2 separate regions of the Homo sapiens genome follow, and region 2 is linked to region 1. The links are contacts of gene promoters, found by promoter capture Hi-C in blood cells and fetal thymus (Javierre and others, 2016). All regions are on one chromosome and are shown on one strand. Each heading gives the region's core, a stretch centred on a gene start or on the middle of the fragment in contact. The rest is flanking DNA. Distances are from core to core; before and after follow the strand shown. Region 1 holds the start of LRRC4B (leucine rich repeat containing 4B). Region 2 has its middle 2.6 kb from the start of KLK13.

What was found. The method cuts DNA at HindIII sites, captures the fragments that hold promoters and counts their contacts. A CHiCAGO score of 5 or more calls a contact.
Region 2: a contact is called between a fragment that was not itself captured here and the fragment with the promoter of LRRC4B in region 1, in 1 of 17 cell types (M2 macrophages). The highest score is 5.3, in M2 macrophages.

Annotation. Positions count from the first base shown.
Region 1 is chr19:50,566,781-50,570,585 of GRCh38, forward strand. LRRC4B (leucine rich repeat containing 4B) reads right to left here and starts at 1,655. Exons shown (of 3, transcript NM_001080457.2): 1 at 1,164-1,655. The HindIII fragment of the contact is 11,248 bases long and covers 1-2,887 here.
Region 2 is chr19:51,065,826-51,069,560 of GRCh38, forward strand. No RefSeq gene overlaps it. Among named protein-coding and RNA genes, the nearest start is that of KLK13, 2.6 kb to the left of the region's middle. The HindIII fragment of the contact is 1,876 bases long and covers 648-2,523 here.

The DNA.
Region 1 (3,805 bases), core at 405-2,904:
AGTACTATGGGGTGAGGAGACAACGATGGAGGGGGTCTCTGGGTGATGAAAGGTCATAGAAGGATGTTTCAGAGAGTGATGGGCTAAGGAGAAGGCGACTGGGGGTGTTGGGGAGAAAGGGGAGAGGCTGGGGTGCAAGGCCCAAAGAGGGGCGGGGAGGGAGTGGGAGGAGGGAGCTAGAGGAGAGGGCGGCTGAAGTGAGGGTCTCCTGGACAGAAGGTCTGGAGAGGGATATCTGGGGGATTGTCAGAGATGGGGGTTAGAGAAGGCTGAGGAGCAGATGCCGTGTCTTAGAAGGTCCTAGAAGAGCAGGTGTGAGGGTCGGAAGCCTGGGGAGGAGGCAGCAAATGGGGGGCGGGGGTCTCCAGGAGGAGAGGTTTCCAGGAGGGGAGGGCGGAGGGAGGTGGGAGAGGCAGTGGTCCTGGAGAGACACGTGCCCAAGGATAGAAGGCCCCAAAGCCTAGTGGGGTCAGGGAACGGGGGTCTTGGAGAGACGGAGGGGCAGGGGTCCGAGCCGCCCACCAGGAGAGGCGGGGTGACCCCAGAGGGAGAAGGGCTGAAGACTGGGGAGGGGGTTGTCTCACTCCCCAATCACCCCCTCCGTCTTTCCCATTTTCACTTCCCAAACTCCCCGGTTCTCCCCGGTTGCCACGGCAACCGCTCTTGCCAGGCGCGGTCACCAAGGAAACCCCGTGCCCGCCTCTCCCCCCTCCCCATCACTGGCGTGCCCCCCCCACCCCAAGCAGCAGCGGTGTGGAGGGTGGGAGGGGCCATGGGGAGAGGAAGAACCTGGACTCCCGCCCCAGAAAGGGGGGCCCGGACCTACGCCCGGAGAGCCCCCCACCCTAAGCCTACTTCCTCAGCCCCACAGCTGGATACGCAGCGACCGCCGGACGCACCCCCCACAACCTGTCCCCAGGCAGCGGCGACAACCACCCCCCCCACAGCACAGAACTCGCCCTGCCCGGAGAACCCCCACCCAGTCGCCTCCCCCACCGGCTTCTGCCTCCCATTAGGCCCCGCCCCCTGTCCTCTGCCATCCCCCCCCATCCCGGAGGAGGCCTAAGACCACTGTCCCCCAATTAGCGAATGCCCCCCACCCACCCCCCGCGGTTCCGCCTCCGGCCCCCGCCCCCGACCCGTGCCCCTTGGCGGCTACTCACAGCGAGGAGAGGGGTTCCTTCCGGGGGGCAGCATGCCCGGCCCGTGGGGGGAGGACCCCCCCAATGAGGCTCAGGAATTTGGGGTGCAAGGCCCGCTGCGGGGAGGCGCGGGGGGCGGGGCTGCGGCCGGGCCTGGAGCCTCTCGCGCTCTCCCCCCTCCCCGGCTCCTGGGTGGGGAGGGGGCTTCCGCAGCGGCGGCGGTGGGGCTGGGGGGGCCGCTCTGCCTCCTCGCCTCGCGCCCGCCTGCCGTCCGGCCCCGCGCCCTCGCCCGCCGCCCGCCTTCCTTCTTGCCTTCCTTTCTTTCCTTCTTTCTTTCCTGGCTTCCTTCCTTCCAGCCTTCCTTCCTTCCTTCCTCCCTCCTCGGGCCCGCCGGCGCCGCTCTCCCCCCACCCCACCCCCCCCCAGGCCCCGGCCCCGGCCCCGGCCCCCGCCTCGGACGGTGCGGCAGCGACCGAGAGCAGCCGAGAGCGGCGGAGACGGGAGCGGAATACTGATGATGGTGGGAGCGGGCGGGCGGAGGGAGGGAGCAGGGAGGGAGGCCCGGGAGGAGAGGAAGGGGGGAGAGAGGGAGGGGAGGGAGGGCAGCGTGGAGAGGGAGGAAGGAAAGAGGGGGGAAGAACCGGAGAGGATGGGAGAGGGAGGGAAGAAAGGAGAGGGAGACGGGAGGGAAGGGGAAGGGGGGGAGGAAAGAAGAGGGAAGGGGAGGAAAGAAGGAAGGAAGTGGGAAGGGGGTGGAAGAAAGAAGAGGGGGAGAAAAAGGGGAGGAGCAGGGGAGAGAGGAGGGAAAGGGGAGAGGGTGTGGGAGGGGAGGGGAGAGGAGGGGGTAACTCCTGCAATAAGGTCCTGGATGAAGGGGAGGGGAGGGCGGGGGGCAGGGGGAGTGGGTAGAGGAAGAGGAAAGGAGGGAGAGGAGGAGTGGAGGGGGAGATGGGTAGAGAGATGGGCAGGAGAGGCCCAGGGGCAGGGAAGTGAGGGGAAAGAGGAGGTAGGGAAGGCCTAACTTTGAGGGCTGCAGGGGACAGAGGGGCCTGGAGGGCGGCGGGGGCTGTGGGGAGAAGAATGGGGGGTGCGGTGTGCGTTGTCAGGAAGAGCAGGGGAAGCTGGCAGGACCCGGAAGAGGCAGGAGGATCTAAGTGGGACAGAGATGAGAGGATGGAAGAGGGAGGGAAGGACCCGTCGGGGGGAGGGGGGAGGAGAAAGATCTCGGGGGAGAGGAGAGAAGCTGGGGAGCTGGAGCTTTGAGGGCCCAAGACTGGGTGGCAAGAGCCCGGGGAGTAGACAGAGTGGGGGAGGGGACAGAGGGCCTTTCTTGAACTCCGCTGTATGCCCGCTTCGTCCGCCCCTCCACCTCATGAAGAGAAGAACCTTCAAACCCATTTTCCAGAAGAGACCACTGAGCTCTTGGAGGAGCCAGGATGGGGTTTGAATGCAGTCTTGGGCTGGGGGTACCCTGAGGGAGATGGAGAATGGGTCAGTTCCTAGCTTTCGTCCCTGGTCCAGACTTGGCAGGTGGAGGCACCTGGGAGGGGCAGAGGGCACAGCCTGCAGCCTCCCTACTCACTCTCCTCTCACCTCCCCCAGGTGTTGGCAGCGGGTGCTGGGGACGCATTTAGAGCTGTGAAGCTGAGCTGCATCTTGGGTGCAGGGAGGGGGAGGGCAGATGCAGAGGCCTCTGGGAGGTCACCGTGACCCTCCCCTCTACCTCCCCGGTCCACTACCCCAAAAGCTTGGGCCCCAAGGAAGGGGGACATCGGGAATCAGGGGCGGAGAAACCCAGAAGGAGGGGTGGCCCCTGTCCAGGACACTGAAGATCCTTCCAGATGTTAAAATTAGCACAGAAGTTTCACCCCTGCCTTGTTATCCCCCAAAACGCTGACTAATAACTGAGGACTCAGGAGAGAGAGAAGAAAGATGAAGGTTCCTTCTTTCAGTGCCAGGGGACCCGGGACAGACTCTCCCTCTTCCCCTTCTCCTCGGAGAGCCCCAGGGAGGGAAAGTGTGGCTGTACCCCTGCAGGCAGAGCCTGGGGAGAGTCAGGGTTGGAAGCTGGAAGGAAAGTGGGCCAGACACATCTATAATGAGCCAGGGTTCCCGAGAGAAGCCAGGTCACAGATGGGTTCGGAAGAGGCGGTTTTGGGTGGGCGCTGGTGGGTGCTGAGCCCTGAGAGCTGCCGAGAGGGGAAACTGAGAAGGGGCTGGGCGAGGGCCAGGGAGTGGCAGGTGGCTGTGGTGCTTCGGGTTTCACCCGCCCCTGGCGCCGCTCAAGTCTAGTTCGTGAGACTGGACCAGTGAATGTGTGTGTGCACCAGGGTCCAGCACAGAGTAGGCCAGGACCGATGGTGATACCAGCAAAACAGAATCACATGGTGGCAGCCCGCGGTTCCTCCTGGTCTCCCACAGGCCAGATGCTGTGCCCAGCACCTCACAAGCGTGGCATCAATCCTGCAACCATGCGGTACCAACTCCTAGGGATGGTGGTACCTGGTGGGCACAGGTGAGAGCAGGCCCCTGATGAGCCCTGAGTTAACCCTTTCATTACAAGAGGGTCTCGGCCGGGCATGGTGGCTCGCACCTGTAATCCCAGCACTTTGTGAGGCCGAGGCGGGAGGATCACTTGAGGTCGGGAGTTCGAGACCAGCCTG
Region 2 (3,735 bases), core at 336-2,835, 500 kb after region 1:
TGCTTGGGGCGGAGCTTCCAGGACGTGCTGGGACCTAGGTCTGACCCCGCCCAAGGCAGAGTTGAACCCACTGTGAACTTTCAGGCCTCAGGACCCAAAAAAGGGTAAGGGGAAAGCCCATTTCCTTCCCCCTACCCCGCTGAGTTCCATGCCCATCCCTAACTTCAACCCATTCTGCACCCAGTTTTCTAACCTCTTCTCCAACCCCATGCATAATTCTTAATAGGCAGTCAGCCCCCAGATGGCCGTGTTCTATCAGATTCCCACCTCCCTATCCATCCCTAACCATACCAAGTACTCCAGCCTGTTCCTCAACCCCAGTCCCATCTCCAACCTCATCTCAGGTTTAGCTCTCAACACATCCAGGTTCCAATTCCCAGTCTCATCTCAACCCTTTTTCTTTTGAAAGACACAAGGACACCCACAATTATCCCATCATCCTGCCTCCCTGCTCCCGCCAACCACCGGACACAAGAAGGAAATCATCAGCTGGGTGGATAGAAAATCAGCTCCCTCGGACTTGGATGGGGGCAGAGATGCGACCTGAGAAAGCAACATTTTCCAGAAATGGCCTTTTAGGAGCAGGGCCAGAGGGGGTGAGGGAGTCCACGGGGACCTAGGTGGAGAGGAAAAAGCAGGAGCCGGAAAGCTTTGAAGACGTGGATTGGGGGTGGGGGAGAGGAAGGAGGAAGGGGTGGTGTTTTGAGAATGAGTAGGTGTCTCCAGGAACTATGACTGGGTGGAGCCCTGAGTTAATCCTAGGGGGTGGAGGGGACAGGATTAGGGATTAAGGACTGAGGTGGGGTCAGAATTTGGAAGAAAGCCAGGGACGTGGACCAGATGAAGTTTGGAAAGAGTGAGAGAGTGGAGGTGTCACAATGAGGATAAAGAATAGAGATGGATGGGGCGAGGGCTCACATGGAAACTTGTACAGTCCTTATTGATGGAGTTCAGATTTGGATGTGGAGATCAAATCTAGTGTCAAAGGGTAACTTTTAAAACATGGTCTTACCATGACTCTCTGACATATATGAAATGAACATGTGTCAAAGATTGTATCTTGACTCATTAATAAATGGCAGAGCCAGTAAGATGTTACAAAGAGCCATATGCACAGAGACAACGAGGAATGCTGAAATGAATTTACAAATAGATGCAAAACTGGCTATTCCACACTGGGAGGAGGAGGGAAATCCATTGTACTTCCACCTGGCAAAATTCATGTAAACATTTATGGACAAGAATTATTTGCATTGCTCTCAGATACCTACAATTTAGAGTCATAAAGTGGCTCAAAGACAGGAAAGGGTACAGAGACCTCATAAAATCAGATAACCCATCTAACTTTGCATTGGCGACACCTCAGTGTCCAATGTTGGGTCCATTTCAAAGTATTTTGCTAAGAAGAAAAATATGGCTTAATATAGGAAATCAGTAGAGTCTATGGTTAAGGATGGGCCTGATGACAACATTAGGAATGCAATGAGTTTGGGGAGGTGAATGAAAATTGGATGAGGATGGGTATAGAGTTGGAGGTGGTAGTTGAGCTGGTTTTGGGATAGGATTAGATTGTAAGATGGGAGGTATCTAGGGATAAGTTGGTGTTGGGGTACTGTTGGGTTGGGGCTGAAGATGGAACCAAGATTGAGGTTTTGGATGGGGAAATGTTAAGATGTGGTTGAGCTGGGGTAGTGGGTTGACATGGGTGATGAGGACTGGCCATGAGGTTGAGTGTCTATGATGCAGTAGGTTTTGGTGGGGGTGAGCTGGGTCATACCCCACCTCTCAAGGTGAAAGAAAGGTCACTGTCTTTCTCCACCCTGGACTTCTCCCACCTCACAGGGCGGGGTCTGAGTTCACTTTTTGAGTGGAATTGTGTTCAGGTGGTGTGGCTGGAGGTAGGATGCCAGGTTAAGTGCGGCAACCAGCTTATGTGGGAAATCGGGGTACTTGTACCCTCCTGTGACCTGGGTCCATGCTTCCAGAGAAGCCTTTCTCACTTGGGAAAAGCTGGAGCCTGGAGTGAGGGTGGTTGGCCTTGTTATTTGCTGAGGGGTGAGTGCCAGGTCAAATTGATGTTAGGGGTTATGATTGGCCGAACGCGGGTTGGGTAGCTCTGGTTGAAGTGAGGTCATGGACCCACTGAGGGCTGGGCACCTTCCACCCCCTCACTTGATGAACAAGCCCACGGCTGAAAGTCACACACAAACTGGACCAAATCCAAGTGCGCTTCTGTCACAGGTGCAGGTCTTTCCTCCACCACAGAGAACCGGGCTGGAGAAAGAAGAAGAAAGGACCCGAAAAAGAGATGGTGTTCCTAGTGGTTCTGACCTCAGACTCTGGAGCTAGACTGCCTGAGTTCAGATGATGTGACTGCTCTGTGCCTCAGCATCCCCATTTGTAAAATGGCACAATCAATAGCACTTGCCTTATGGAGAAGGGTTAACTGGATTAATACCCAAAAATGCTTCGAAGAGAGTGTGGCATGGACCAAGGGCCACAATGCTCCTGTTAAATAAGTAAAGCTTAAGATGGAGGCATCTGACGGTTCCAGGAGGCCCCTCCCTATCTTGGCTTCAAAATGGGATTCTTTGTCAAGCAGGAACTGGAACTTCTGGTTGGAAGTGCTAGCTGGGATGAGAAAGTAGGCCCCACACCCAGGCCCAGAGGAGGGGCCCCAACGCAAACATGAAGGGAGGGGAAGACTGAGAGATACAAAGGGCTAAATACACAGAGACAGAAAGATGGGGCAGGTGGGAGAGGACAGAAAGAAAATTCAGAGGACAGAGGCACAGAGATAGAAAGAGAGAGATGCCCAGTGAGAAGCAGACTCTTGGTGAGAAAGAGGCACAGAGAGTTGAGAAACATGGATTCTTCTTTAGAGCTGGATCCGTGTTATTCAGGATGTGGCTCCAGTCATCATGCATCCCAGGCAGCAATAACACATCGCTTTCATCCATCAGAATAGCAAAAATTAGAAAGGTCGGTCTTGCCACCTACCTGCGTGCCCACATCCTCTGTCTCCTCTCCCATTTCTCTAGATGAACAGTCTGCACCTGCAGCTAAGATAGATGCCTCCACTGGTGCTGGTATCCTGTCCTCTCTTGCCTTCTGGAGGGCATTGCTCCAGCCAGCAGTTCTCTGTTCTCTTTCCTGCAACATGTTTTCCTTCTTCTCCAAGGAGCAGCCCCATTAGCATGCAAATATACTACAGTTTCTCCCATCTCTCGTTAAAATTTGAAAACCAACCAACAAAAATTTCTCCCCACTCTCATGTTCTCCTTCAGCTCCTGGCCCATTTTCTGCTCTGTACAACTGCAATCCTTCCCTAAAAAGTTGGCTAAGCTCACTGCCTGCAATTCCTGTCCTCCCGTCCTCCCTGGAGCCCACACTATGAAGGCTTTCTCTCCCATTGCTGTACCAACCATGCCCCTGTTTAGGGCAACAGTGACCTCCACGGTACTGAATCCAAGGGCCGTCTCTTCAGGTTCATCTTACTGGAGTTATCAGCAGCATTTAACAAGTGGACTACTCCCTGTTTCTTTCCTTGGCTTCTGGGACACTATGCTCTCCTGGTTTTCCTCATCACTCACTGGTTGATTCTCATCCGTGTCTGGAGGTGGTTTCTTCCTGTCTCCCCAGTCTCTACATGGTGGAGCACCTCAGGCTTCGGTCCTTGGCCTTCTTCTCTCCTCTGTCTATATTCACTCCCTCGGTGATCTCATCTGGTCTCGT